Linked DNA regions of Homo sapiens: regions 2, 3 and 4 are each linked to region 1. Evidence: promoter capture Hi-C in 16 types of primary human blood cells and fetal thymus (Javierre and others, 2016). All regions are on one chromosome and are shown on one strand. The core of a region is centred on a gene start or on the middle of the fragment in contact, and the rest is flanking DNA. Distances in the headings are between cores, read along the strand shown.

Evidence for each region. The method cuts DNA at HindIII sites, captures the fragments that hold promoters and counts their contacts. A CHiCAGO score of 5 or more calls a contact.
Region 2: a fragment that was not itself captured here is called in contact with the fragment with the promoter of DVL1 in region 1 in 1 of 17 cell types (M0 macrophages); the score reaches 5.5 in M0 macrophages.
Region 3: a fragment that was not itself captured here is called in contact with the fragment with the promoter of DVL1 in region 1 in 1 of 17 cell types (activated CD4 T cells); the score reaches 5.3 in activated CD4 T cells.
Region 4: a fragment that was not itself captured here is called in contact with the fragment with the promoter of DVL1 in region 1 in 1 of 17 cell types (activated CD4 T cells); the score reaches 5.0 in activated CD4 T cells.

Annotation. Positions count from the first base shown.
Region 1 is chr1:1,347,913-1,350,971 of GRCh38, forward strand. DVL1 (dishevelled segment polarity protein 1) reads right to left here and starts at 1,506. Exons shown (of 15, transcript NM_001330311.2): 1 at 984-1,506. The coding sequence starts at 1,153. RefSeq lists an enhancer at 1-468 and silencers at 21-197, 1,358-1,537, 1,638-1,957, 1,978-2,127. The HindIII fragment of the contact is 21,682 bases long and covers 545-3,059 here.
Region 2 is chr1:1,039,366-1,042,424 of GRCh38, forward strand. AGRN (agrin) reads left to right here. Exons shown (of 36, transcript NM_198576.4): 4 at 1,300-1,515; 5 at 1,808-2,032; 6 at 2,113-2,337; 7 at 2,591-2,797. Among named protein-coding and RNA genes, the nearest start is that of AGRN, 21 kb to the left of the region's middle. RefSeq lists an enhancer at 181-859 and a silencer at 1,415-1,624. The HindIII fragment of the contact is 3,981 bases long and covers 1-3,059 here.
Region 3 is chr1:1,066,016-1,069,074 of GRCh38, forward strand. It overlaps LOC100288175 (a long non-coding RNA gene), which reads left to right. Exons shown (of 4, transcript NR_148960.1): 4 at 1-438. It overlaps LOC105378948 (a long non-coding RNA gene), which reads right to left. Exons shown (of 5, transcript NR_168433.1): 1 at 2,546-3,059; 2 at 1,783-2,025; 3 at 731-783; 4 at 451-583. Among named protein-coding and RNA genes, the nearest start is that of RNF223, 6.8 kb to the right of the region's middle. RefSeq lists silencers at 2,699-2,888, 3,049-3,059. The HindIII fragment of the contact is 4,423 bases long and covers 1-3,059 here.
Region 4 is chr1:1,616,693-1,619,751 of GRCh38, forward strand. All of the region lies in intron 2 of MIB2 (MIB E3 ubiquitin protein ligase 2), which reads left to right. Among named protein-coding and RNA genes, the nearest start is that of MIB2, 2.7 kb to the left of the region's middle. The HindIII fragment of the contact is 1,337 bases long and covers 658-1,994 here.

The DNA.
Region 1 (3,059 bases), core at 256-2,755:
AGAGCTCCAGAGCGGACCCAGCCTGACTGGACCTGGGGCTGCCTGAGGACCCTGCAACCACAGAATCCAAGAAACAACCTTAATGTCACAATCCCAAGAAGCGGCCACACACAAGGACACCGCTTGCCGGAGGCTCACCTCCTGGGGCCACGAGGCCTGAGCCCGCCCCCAGCACTGTTGAGCTGGGACTAGGGACTCAGGTTACTGGTGGCTGGGCCGGGCCAGGCCAGGCCTCAAGCAGACCGCCAGGCTCCTGCTCCCTGTCCCAGAGGGCCCAGCTCAGCACAGCAGGGGTCTCCTCGCCTGGGACACCACCACCGAGGCCCAGCAGGGAGACGCTGACCCAGGCTGCCCCGAAACAGCAGATGGTCTGGGCTGCTCCGGGAACGCAAGTGCTTTGTGGCTCAGTGGGGACGGGGCCCACAGGAAGCTCAGGACACGGGTAGGCGAATAAAGTTTCATGGTCACCAGTGGCCCTTGACCTCCACCCTGTCACAAGGACCCTGCAGAAGGGGGCCAGGAGAACCTGTCTTGACCCTCGGGAAGCTTCTGCAAACCCTAGCAGACAGGTTGGTGAACCTGTACCCCCATGTCTCCCCATCCCAGCTAGGGAACCCCACCCTGCTTCCTTCCCACTGACACGCCCCTGACCCCAGCCCGCACCAACGGCAGGCGCTCCCGGCCAGCCCCGGTGGAAGCGATGCGGCCGACCGAGTCTGACACGGGCCAAGGCAGGACTCGGGGCCGGGAAGCTGGGGCCAGGGACGCCGGGAACCCCGCCTGCCATCGCCCCGCTCCACGGACAGGTGGGCGCGCGCCGCACACGGGCCGAGGCCGCCACCCGCGCCGCATCTAGCGGAGGCGCGTCGCGGTCGCAGGTCCCCGGGGGCGCGAACGGCTCAGGACCCCCGCCCCGTCCCCGCGCGGGCAGGTGCGACCCCCGAGCCCGCGCCAGGCTCGCGCAGGCCTCGCGGCCGACTGACCCGAAGTCCTGGTCCATGGACTTAAAGAAGAATTTGTAGGCGTGCACGGGCCGGTTGCTGAGCACGTTCTTGAAGTCGGCCAGCGTGACGCGCTCGGGGGCCACGGGCAGCTTGACCAGGTACGGCGTCTCCTCCTCGTCCATGTGGTAGATAATCTTGGTCTCCGCCATGGCGCGGCGGCGGCGCGGAGCCCGCGCGCTCAGGGCCCGGCCCGGGGCTCGGACGCGGGGCGCTACCCGCCCGCCCGCCTGCGCCCCGCCCGGCCCGCACCGCTCTCGGCCCCGACGCTCCGAGGCCCCCGGGCGCCCCCGCCCGACCGCCCAGGCCCCGGCCGCCGCCCCCGGCTCCCGCGCGCGTCCCGACTGCTGCCCCGCGGCCCGCGGCCGCCCATCCGCCCCCGGCCCGGGAGCGGCGCGAGGGACGCAGCACGGAGGGCGCGCTCAGCCCCGCCGCCCTCCCGCCTGCGCCCCTCGGGCCGCGCCGTTAAAGGGACCGCCCGGCCCGGGGTCCTGAGCGTGGCCGCGGGGGGGCGCCCGAGCGCGCGGCGTTGACGTCACGGGGGCGCACGGCGGGGGCGGGGCGAGGATGCGCAGACGCAGGCGATCATCGCTCGCCCCGCCCCGCCCCGGCCCCGCCCCCGCGCGCGGGCCCGCGCTCCATTATGATCCGGCGCATGCGACGCGCGCCGCTGGCTGTGGGCCCGTGGGCGCCGGGGCGCTCGGGTCGGGCGGAGGGACCCCGGGGACGCCGGGTGCGCGGCGCTGAGGTGGCGCCCGGTCGCTCTGCGCCACCGCGAAGGCTCCCGACTCGCGTGCCCTCTGCCGGGTCCCACGGGGTCCAGGCAGCAGGCCGAGCGGATGCGGGGCGCGCGGGGGCGCGGGCGTGCACGGAGGCGTCGGAGCGCCCGGCGGCGGGAGGGATTTAGTCCTGGGGTTCTCCGCAGGGCAGGGGAGACTTCCGAGGCGTCCCTTGAGGCCGCGGGGCGTCCGCGCTTACTGTTCCGGGGCTCGCGGGGCTGGAGGCCTTCCCGACCCGACCCCAGCAGGAAGCGCGGAGGCCACTAGAGGGCGGCCCAGGATGGGAGGAGTGAGGAGGGGGCCTGGACGGGGCAGGAGCGACGGGGGGAGTGAGGAGGGGGCCTGGACGGGGCAGGAGCGACGGGGGGAGTGAGGAGGGGGCCTGGACGGGGCAGGAGCGACGGGGGGAGTGAGGAGGGGGCCTGGACGGGGCAGGAGCGACGGGGGGAGTGAGGAGGGGGCCTGGACGGGGCAGGAGCGACGGGGGGAGTGAGGAGGGGGCCTGGACGGGGCAGGAGCGACGGGGGGAGTGAGGAGGGGGCCTGGACGGGGCAGGAGCGACGGGGGGAGTGAGGAGGGGGCCTGGACGGGGCAGGAGCGACGGGGGGAGTGAGGAGGGGGCCTGGACGGGGCAGGAGCGACGGGGGGAGTGAGGAGGGGGCCTGGACGGGGCTGGAGCGACGGGGGGAGTGAGGAGGGGGCCTGGACCGGGCAGGAGCGACGGGGGGAGTGAGGAGGGGGCCTGGACCGGGCAGGAGCGACGGGGGGAGTGAGGAGGGGGCCTGGACGGGGCAGGAGCGACGGGGGGAGTGAGGAGGGGGCCTGGACGGGGCAGGAGCGACGGGGGGAGTGAGGAGGGGGCCTGGACGGGGCAGGAGCGACGGGGGGAGTGAGGAGGGGGCCTGGACGGGGCAGGAGCGACGGGGGGAGTGAGGAGGGGGCCTGGACGGGGCAGGAGCGACGGGGGGAGTGAGGAGGGGGCCTGGACGGGGCAGGAGCGACGGGGGGAGTGAGGAGGGGGCCTGGACGGGGCAGGAGCGACGGGGGGAGTGAGGAGGGGGCCTGGACGGGGCAGGAGCGACGGGGGGAGTGAGGAGGGGGCCTGGACCGGGCAGGAGCGACGGGGGGAGTGAGGAGGGGGCCTGGACGGGGCAGGAGCGACGGGGGGAGTGAGGAGGGGGCCTGGACGGGGCAGGAGCGACGGGGGGAGTGAGGAGGGGGCCTGGACGGGGCAGGAGCGACGGGGGGAGTGAGGAGGGGGCCTGGACGGGGCAGGAGC
Region 2 (3,059 bases), core at 396-2,895, 310 kb before region 1:
GCAACAGCTGGCTCCAGCTCCCAGTGCACCCACCCTCCTTGGAGATGGGGGGGGTTCCTCCTGCCCCATTTCACGAGCCTGCTGGGAAGTGATGGGTGGTAGCCACCCCTCTGACATGACTTATTAATGATAATTGGACCCAATTAAACATTTATTAAATCCAGACAGCTGCAGCCGCTAACGGACCCTTCCCTGATCCTGGGTGGGCCATGCTGGGGGTGGGGGTGCTCAGGATGGGCTGCCGCAGGGGCTCTGGGTTTTAACGTGCCTGAGGCAGCTTTGTTGGCCACGTTGAGGTCTGGTGATGGGACGTGTGTCAGGCGCTGTGGTCTGCAGCTGTAAGAACTAAAATGAGCAACAGTTCCTGCACCTCTCCAAGAAGGAAGTTCGCTTTGACAGAGAGTGAGGGCGATGGAGGAGGCAAGAGTGAGGTGGGGGGCCGGGGGATGCCCAGGGAGGAGGGGGCGTGTGGGTGCCCCAGGGATCCCAGGGAGCGATGGGAGGCTGCAGAAGGGCACAGGCCTGCCGCGGGTGGGGGGCTGGCCAGGGAGAATAGGAGATAGTAGAGGCGGAGGCCAGGAATTTGCACTTCTCCAGGGAAGCTGGGGAAGAGTTGGGGAGAGGGAGGCAAGAAGATTCCCCACCCATCTTAGGCGCAGGGAGCGGTCAGGGAGGCGCCAGAGGTGGGCCAGAGCTGTGACCTGGCCTCACACCCCGTCCCGGTGGGGCTCTCAGGCCCCTGAGGGCCAGACGCGGGACCTGGGTGCGACCCGGGCGGGAGGCGGCAGGGCTCAGCTGTGCTGGACGCTGCAGCAGCGCGGGAAGGGGCTCCCCCGGCTCCATGGGGTGAATCGGTGAGGGGCTCCGGTGCCGATGTGGAAGGAGCTCCTGAGCAGAACTGGGGCCTGGACTGCTTGTGCCCGAGTTGGTTTCGAGGCGTCTCTGCTTTTCGCTGGAGGCCCACGAGGTGGGTGGGAAGTGGGTGCTCGCCCGTCGCAGAAACAGAGTCGGGTGCCGCCTGCGGCAGACGCCCCTCTCCGCGCCTGCAGGTGCGGGGTGGGGGAGAAAGGTCATCCCTGGAGAGGCCCGGGGCTGGCGGGAATCCTCGGCGGGCGGGGTCTGCGAGGGGCAGGGCCGGTCCTGTGAGCGCACGCACGCGTGTCCGTGTCCGTGGTGGACCCCCGATGCGGCGCGGGGGCGGGTGAATGCGCGGGCTGCGAGCACGGCAAGGTCTCTCAGGCTTGTGGACGTGGGTACGGGCGTCTCGGCACCCTGAGCTTTCTCCCCTACCCGCCCCAGCGTGCCGGGGAATGCTGTGCGGCTTCGGCGCCGTGTGCGAGCCCAACGCGGAGGGGCCGGGCCGGGCGTCCTGCGTCTGCAAGAAGAGCCCGTGCCCCAGCGTGGTGGCGCCTGTGTGTGGGTCGGACGCCTCCACCTACAGCAACGAATGCGAGCTGCAGCGGGCGCAGTGCAGCCAGCAGCGCCGCATCCGCCTGCTCAGCCGCGGGCCGTGCGGTGAGCGGGGCGGGGCCGGTGCCTGGGGCGGGGAGGGGCGGGGCCTATGAGATGGAGCGAGGCTGGGAGGGGCTTCGGGGCCAGTGGGGCGGGGGCAGGGGCGGGGCCCGGCGGGGAGGAGCGGGGCTGGGAGGGGCCTGGGGGGCGGAGCGGGGCGGGAGCGGGGGCGGGGCCTGCGGGGCCCGGCGGGGAGGAGCGGGGCTGGGAGGGGCCTGGGGGGCGGAGCGGGGCGGGAGCGGGGCGGGAGCGGGGGCGGGGGCGGCCCGTCTGACCGGCAAAGCCCCGCCCGCAGGCTCGCGGGACCCCTGCTCCAACGTGACCTGCAGCTTCGGCAGCACCTGTGCGCGCTCGGCCGACGGGCTGACGGCCTCGTGCCTGTGCCCCGCGACCTGCCGTGGCGCCCCCGAGGGGACCGTCTGCGGCAGCGACGGCGCCGACTACCCCGGCGAGTGCCAGCTCCTGCGCCGCGCCTGCGCCCGCCAGGAGAATGTCTTCAAGAAGTTCGACGGCCCTTGTGGTGAGCGCGGCGGCGGGCGCACGGCTCGAGCTCTGTGGGCGCGCGGCGACAGCGTCCTGACTCCTGCCCTCGACCCCCAGACCCCTGTCAGGGCGCCCTCCCTGACCCGAGCCGCAGCTGCCGTGTGAACCCGCGCACGCGGCGCCCTGAGATGCTCCTACGGCCCGAGAGCTGCCCTGCCCGGCAGGCGCCAGTGTGTGGGGACGACGGAGTCACCTACGAAAACGACTGTGTCATGGGCCGATCGGGGGCCGCCCGGGGTCTCCTCCTGCAGAAAGTGCGCTCCGGCCAGTGCCAGGGTCGAGGTGAGCGGCTCCCCCGGGGGAGGGCTCCGGCCAGTGCCAGGGTCGAGGTGGGCGGCTCCCCCGGGGGAGGGCTCCGGCCAGTGCCAGGGTCGAGGTGGGCGGCTCCCCCGGGGGAGGGCTGCGGCCAGTGCCAGGGTCGAGGTGGGCGGCTCCCCTCTGGGAGGGCCGCCTGCTCCCCTGCTCCCTGCACATCCCAGGGCAGGGATGGAGGGTGCTCCAGCCTCTCCGTGACTCCCTCACCCCTGCGTCCTAGACCAGTGCCCGGAGCCCTGCCGGTTCAATGCCGTGTGCCTGTCCCGCCGTGGCCGTCCCCGCTGCTCCTGCGACCGCGTCACCTGTGACGGGGCCTACAGGCCCGTGTGTGCCCAGGACGGGCGCACGTATGACAGTGATTGCTGGCGGCAGCAGGCTGAGTGCCGGCAGCAGCGTGCCATCCCCAGCAAGCACCAGGGCCCGTGTGGTGAGCGCCCCGGGGTGGAGGCCAGGCGGGGTGGGCTGCTCCTGCGTCAGTCCCTGCCTGGACATCACATGCCATCTTCATCCATCATGTTCCTCTTGGGGTCCTGGGAGTGGGCCGGTCCCTCTGGGAAGGCTCTGGGGAGGGTGGAGCCTGTGTGCGGAGGGTACCTGGATACCTGGGGGCTGGTGAGGCAGAGGCGGGGCCTTGTCCAGGCTCCCTGGTCCCTGACCTCAGCCACGCCCTCCCTGGGAGTCCTCTGGCC
Region 3 (3,059 bases), core at 270-2,769, 280 kb before region 1:
GGGGTTCAGGCCTCCGGATGACTGCAGGCAGGCCTGGGTAACATCCAGCCTCCCACAAGAAGCTGGTGGAGCAGAGCGTTCCCTGACTCCTCCAAGGAAAGGAGACTCCCTTTCCCGGTCTGCTCAGTAACGGGTGCCTTCCCAGACACTGGCGTTACCGCTTGACCAAGGGGCCCTCAAGCGGCCCTTATGCGGGCATGACAGAAGGCTCCCCTCTTGCCTTCTATTCACTTCTCACAATGTCCCTTCAGCACCTGACCCTATACCTGCCGGTTATTCCTAGGTTATATTATTAATGCAACAGAGTAATATTAAAAGCTAATGATTAATAATGTTTATAATAATGATGGATAATTGTTCATGATCATCGCTGTATCTAATTTGTATTATGACTATTCTTATTCTATTTTCTTTATTATACTGAAACAGTTTGTGCCTTCAGTCTCTTGCCTCGGCACCTAGGTACTCTTCCGCCCACACGGGACGGGCTGGGGGTGGCCATCTCGGGCTCTGGGAAGGGGCCGGGGCTGTGAGCTGAAGGCTCCATCACCTCCAGATGCTGCAGCAGCAGGAATGCCGGTTCCTGTACCCTCGGAAGGAGGGGCAGAGTGTGGAGAACAAGCCCAAGAATCACTACAAGAACATCCTTCCCTGTGAGGGCGGAGGCCAGGGCGTCACCCGTCGGGCCTGGGGGAGGTGGGGGGCAGGCCGAGCATCTGCCACCGCTGACCTGAGGCTCCCCCTTGCATACCCTGGACCCTCCATCTCTGCTCACCACAGGGTCTGCGGGCAAAGAGGCAGGGTGAGGCCCACGAGCTGTGCCCTGGAGAACTGAGCGGCACCTCCCTTCCCAGTTGATGCTACCCTTGAGTCATCCTGCTCAACGAGGATGACAGCGGGCCCGGAGCCGACTACATCAGGGTGGGTGTGTGCGGGAGGCGGGGCCTGGGCCCATTGCTCCTGGGGGGCTCAGGAAGAACCAGGGTCCCCAAGGGAGGGGTGGGCGGCAGTCTCCAAGGGGTCCTCAGAGAGGCTGGACGGGCATTGGTCCTCAGCCCCTTGCTGGCCTGGAGTGAGGAGTGTGTTTAAGCCACCAGGGCTCTTTGCATAATATTTGTGTGTCGTTTGCATATCATTTGCATAGCATTTGCATGGACTTGTTTGTCCTCTGTTAACAGCAGCAGTTGGCCTCATTCCCTTTCAGACTGACCCTGAGGAGGAGCCGGGCCATGGCAGGGGCAGGGTGGACATCCCTTGTGGCCCTGCCCCGCCGCACCTGCACCTGCACAGCCCGCGTGGGCCCGCCCCGCCGCAGCTGAAGTGCACCACCATGGGCCCGGCCCGCGGCTCGCGGCTCGCGGCTCTGGGCCCGGTTCACCTCGTCCCGGAAGCCGAGGACGCCGGCGGGATCGGTCCGGACGCCGTAGTCCGGCCAGCCGAAGTACTGGAAGTGCTGCACCGTACGCTGTGGCTCCTCCCCGCGGGGCAGGGCCTCGCGGGCGCAGGGTGTACATCGCCTGCAGGGCTGTCTGCAGGCCTGTCTGCAGGCCACGGTGGCTGCTTTCTGGGCCACGGTGCACCAGGAGAACACGCGTGTCATCGTCATGACCACCAGGGAGATGGAGCGGGGCCGGGTAGGGGTGCGGTGCCAGTGCTCCCAGTGCCCATCCCACCCCGTGCATCTTCGGCTGCCCAAGGCCCTTCCCGACCAGGCCAAGGAGGCTGTGGGACGCCGTGGGAGTGGGGAGGCTCCCACAGAGCCCCGTGGCTGCACGTACACACCTGCGTCTCTGCAGGTCGCAGGGGCGGGGTGCCGAGGTGCTGCCAGCAAGGCTGATGCAAAGCGCTCCCCTCGGAACAAGTGTTTCCGGGACTGGCCAGAGCTGCCCGGCAGCCAAGAGTTCGGCCGTGTGCACATGCGCGTCCTCGGCAAGGGCCAGGCCCAGGGCTACTGCGTGCGGGAGCTGCAGGTGTGGCGGCCGGGCCAGGTGAGCCTGGCGGCTGTGGAGCGTGCCTGCTGTCGGCCTGCACTGGGAGACCCCACACCTGCCTGCATCCAACCCCACTGCCTTTGGGGGCTTCCACACCCCTCAACCCAGGAGGTGCATTCCAAGCCTGGACAGGGGTCACTGACGTGGCCACATTCTCAGCCCTGGGCTGGCGGCCGCTCCTCCCACACACCTCTCCAACTGCAGCTTTGGTCTCCGTTGTATACCAGAGACGCCCATTTCTGCTCCGGGCAGATTACCTCGTGTTCCCTCCAGCCCCCGCCCAGTGTGTGTGGGGGGGTCCTCCAGGACCCCATGGACCCCTCACATTTGGTTTTTCCTTATAAAATAACTGTCCTCACAGCCTGCTTCGCCCGCCCCCAGCTCCCTCTTCCCTTCCCCAGGCACCTGAGCCACCTGGGGCCATCTCGGCGCCCCCTCCCCATTTCCTTCCTCCTCCTCCTGCTCGCCTTGGCTCCCGCAGCCCCTCCGCTTGGGCACTCCCGGAAACCCAGCTGTGCCTCAGCCTCCTCCTCCCACCCTGGGGTCACACTCACCGCTTGCCCCGCTCAGGAGGAGCCACAGCGTACGGTGCAGCACTTCCAGTACTTCGGCTGGCCGGACTACGGCGTCCGGGCCGATCCCGCCGGCGTCCTCGGCTTCCGGGACGAGGTGAACCGGGCCCAGAGCAGCAAGCCGCGGGCCGGGCCCATGGTGGTGCACTTCAGCTGCGGCGGGGCGGGCCCACGCGGGCTGTGCAGATGCAGGTGCGGCGGGGCGGGGCCACGCGGGCTGTGCAGGTGCAGGTGCGGCGGGGCGGGGCCACGCGGGACGACGAGGGCGGAGCCATCGGGTGGGCGGGGGCGCCCCCGCCCCCGCCCCCCACTCTCGTCAAAGGCCGCCTAGTTTGTCCTCAGTGGGGGCATCGGATGCACGGGCACCATCATCGTGATTGACATCCTGGTGGACGTCATCCGCAGGCAGGGCGAGCCGCTCCACTCTGGGTCCCCCCGCCCTGCCCTGCTATAGCCCCACCCCTCCGGGCGACCCCACCCCTCCGGACGACCCCAC
Region 4 (3,059 bases), core at 76-2,575, 270 kb after region 1:
GAGGCTGTGTTTGTGTCTGAGCATGCATGCGAGTGGAGGGGAGTGGTGAGTAATCCCGCGTCTCCTCTCTGAGTTCGGAACCCATGGAGGAAGAAAGCAGAGGTGCCAGACAGGCCTCTGATAGGCACCTGCAGGATTGGGGCAGAGCGGCCGCAGCGCAGGAGCGCCGGCAAGCCTGGCCCTTCCCGGGAGGCCCCCTTTGTCCGGTTCCACCCTGGCCTGTTGCCTCACATGCAACAAGTGTCTGAATGTGGCGCTCTCCTGGCCGAGGGCAGCCCTGGGCGGTGAGTGGGATGACACCCCAGCCTGCAGGGTGCCTGTAGGTCTCCACCCAGATGGGCAGGATTGGAGGTGGCCGCAGCGCTCGTGGGCTTTCCCTCAGCAGGTGTCTCCATGCTGGCCTCCCCGCCTCAGGGCTTCATCCCACTCCGTGGGCCTGATCTCCCTGGGGCACCTGGGATGTCCATCTGCGTTAGCTGGAGCTACTCCATGGCCTGTGGCGTGCCACACACAGCGGCATTTCGGTGTCATTAGGCACAGCTGGAGGTGCAAGGAGGAGGGCAGCCTCATGTCCAGTTCCATGTAACTTGCTTCTTCTGAATAAAGGCAATTTGCTAACTTTCTCGCTAAATAGGATTTGGTTTCTATGGCTTTTAAAGCTTCTCCGATAAAATACTTGCAATAAGGGAACTCTCTCCTCCTACACTCTCCTGACTGATGGTTCGGAAGTCCTCCTGCCCTCTGAGAGCTTGCAGTTTCTTGTGAAAAAGAGAAACTAAGCAGCAATAGAACAGACCCGGTGTCTGCTTGCGTGGTTAAGACGGTAAATGCTAAATGTGTGACACTGCCTTTAGAAACCATTTTCTCCAGCCTGGCTTGCTGGCTGCCCGTCTGGTTTGCTGTGTTGTGTCTCCAGTGGCTTTAGCTTCCAACAGGAAAGCCTGGTAGCCGAGCGAATCTGTGACCCAGGAAGTAGCAATTAAATGCCTGGGACGCTGCCTCGAGGCTGGTGTGTGCTCTGAGGTAAGTTCCGATTTGCCAAAGCACATCTGTCGATCTGTCGCCCGAGTCTTCACACCCTGACTGCCTCCATCATTTTAAACATCGGGAGCAGTTGCCTGCAGCGGGGTTCAGATGCCAGCCAGGGGCACAGCCTGTGAACTGTGGGTAGATGGCAAAGTCTAGCATTTCTGGCAAAGGAAAAAACATTTGGTAACTCTCTGAGTAAATTTCTGACTGAGATGAAGATACCCATTGTGGGGCAGCATCCTGAAGCGGAAGCCTGGGCTGTATGTTTCCAAGAGGAGGAGCAGGAGTGGCCACAGCCATGTACGCCACGATGTACACCAGGGGCTGCGTGGCCACAGCTCTGGTCTGCTGGTCTGCTCCCTGGAGCCCCTCCACCAGTGCTGGGCTGTGGCTGTGGCTGTCTCTGGTTTGTCTTTCTGGGAAACCTTGGCCAGGTTGGTGTGAGGGCAGGGCTAGCCTTGGACATCTGCACTTCCCATAGCAGCCTCTGGCCCAGAGCTCACCCGCTGTGGGCAGGTGATCAGGGTGATCAGGTCCCACGGGTCCCCTCCTCTGCACCTGGAGCCTTGTGGGTGTAGAACAGAAAAATAGGAGGGGGCAACCCAGAGGCCTCCTGCTCTCCAGGAAGGAATGGATGCTGGACAGGTCCAGGGTGGAGGCAGAGGGAGTGAGGGGCCCTTGGGGGAACATCTGTCCTAGAGGGCTTGATTTCCAGGCTGCCCACCCCACTCCTACCCCTAATCTGGTGTTCCTCACCTGCCTCCAGGAAGTCCTCACCTGAGGTCTGCAGCGGGTGTGCCAAGCGCCAGCCCCACATCACCTGCTCCCAGGCCTGCCCAGGGGATGGGTCCTGTGGCCAGTACCCTCGGGGTCAGCTTGACCCAGACCCAGCCCAGAACCTGTCCCATGGCCCCAGGAGGACAGGATGGTCAGGGAAGCCCAAGGGATGAGCCCTTTTGTCCACAAGCTTCCCTCTGACATGGGCAGGCTGCTTGTGCGACCCCACAGCCCCCACCTCTCATGAACAATGGGAATGGGGCAGGCCCCTCGATGCTGGGCTGGATCCTCCCGCCCCTAAGCAGGTGCACTCTGTCCCCTTTGAGAAGAGACCAAGGGATACAAGTGCTGGGTCCTGGCGGGGTGCCCCTCCTCCCTGCCTGTGGGGGTCTCATTACTGCCTCCTGCCCCCACCACAAACACCCCCTAGAGAGGCCTTCGGAGGCAGGTACTGAGCCCTGGGGCCAGGGTGCCAGGAGCCCAGTGGCAGGTCTTGGGTGACTGCTGGCCCTGGGGCAATGGTGAGAAAGCCAGGCAGGCAGCTGCAGGAAGGAGCTGAGGAGAAAGGCGGCAGAGCCTCAAAAGCTGCTGGCGGCCGGGCACAGTGGCTCACACCTGGAATCCCAGCACTTTGGGAGGCCGAGGCGGGCGGATCACGAGGTCAGGAGATCGAGACCATCCTGGCTAACACGGTGAAACCCCCGTCTCTACTAAAAAATAGAAAAAATGAGCCAGGTGTGGTGGCAGACGCCTGTAGTCCCAGCTACTCGGGAGGCTGAGGTAGGAGAATGGCGTGAACTTGGGAGGCGGAGCTTGCAGTGAGCTGAGATTGCGCCACTGCGCTCCAGCCTGGGCGACAGAGCGAGATTACGTCTCAAAAAAACCAAAACTGCTGGCCCCTCCAGAGGGTCCAGGATACTGAGCTCCTGAGCCTGGGATCCACGCGCATGTGGTCTGTCTGCACACTGGCACCGCAGAAGGGTTGGCAGGCGGGCAGGCATGGCTGGAGACCCCGCTCAGATGAGGCGGCCACTCCAGGGCAGTGCCATGCTGGACAGAAGGGACTGCCTTGGAAGTGGGACAGACCCCAGACCCTTGGGGTGGGGGCCCTGCAGGGGAGGCCTTGAGGAGGCGCCGGGTCTACAGGCCCCTGTGTGCTCACATCCCAGCCCCCGGGGAGAGGTGGGAGTGGGTGGGCGCACCCAGCTCCCCTGTCCAGGCTCGTCCCCCTTGTTGGGGCAGCCCTCAGCAAG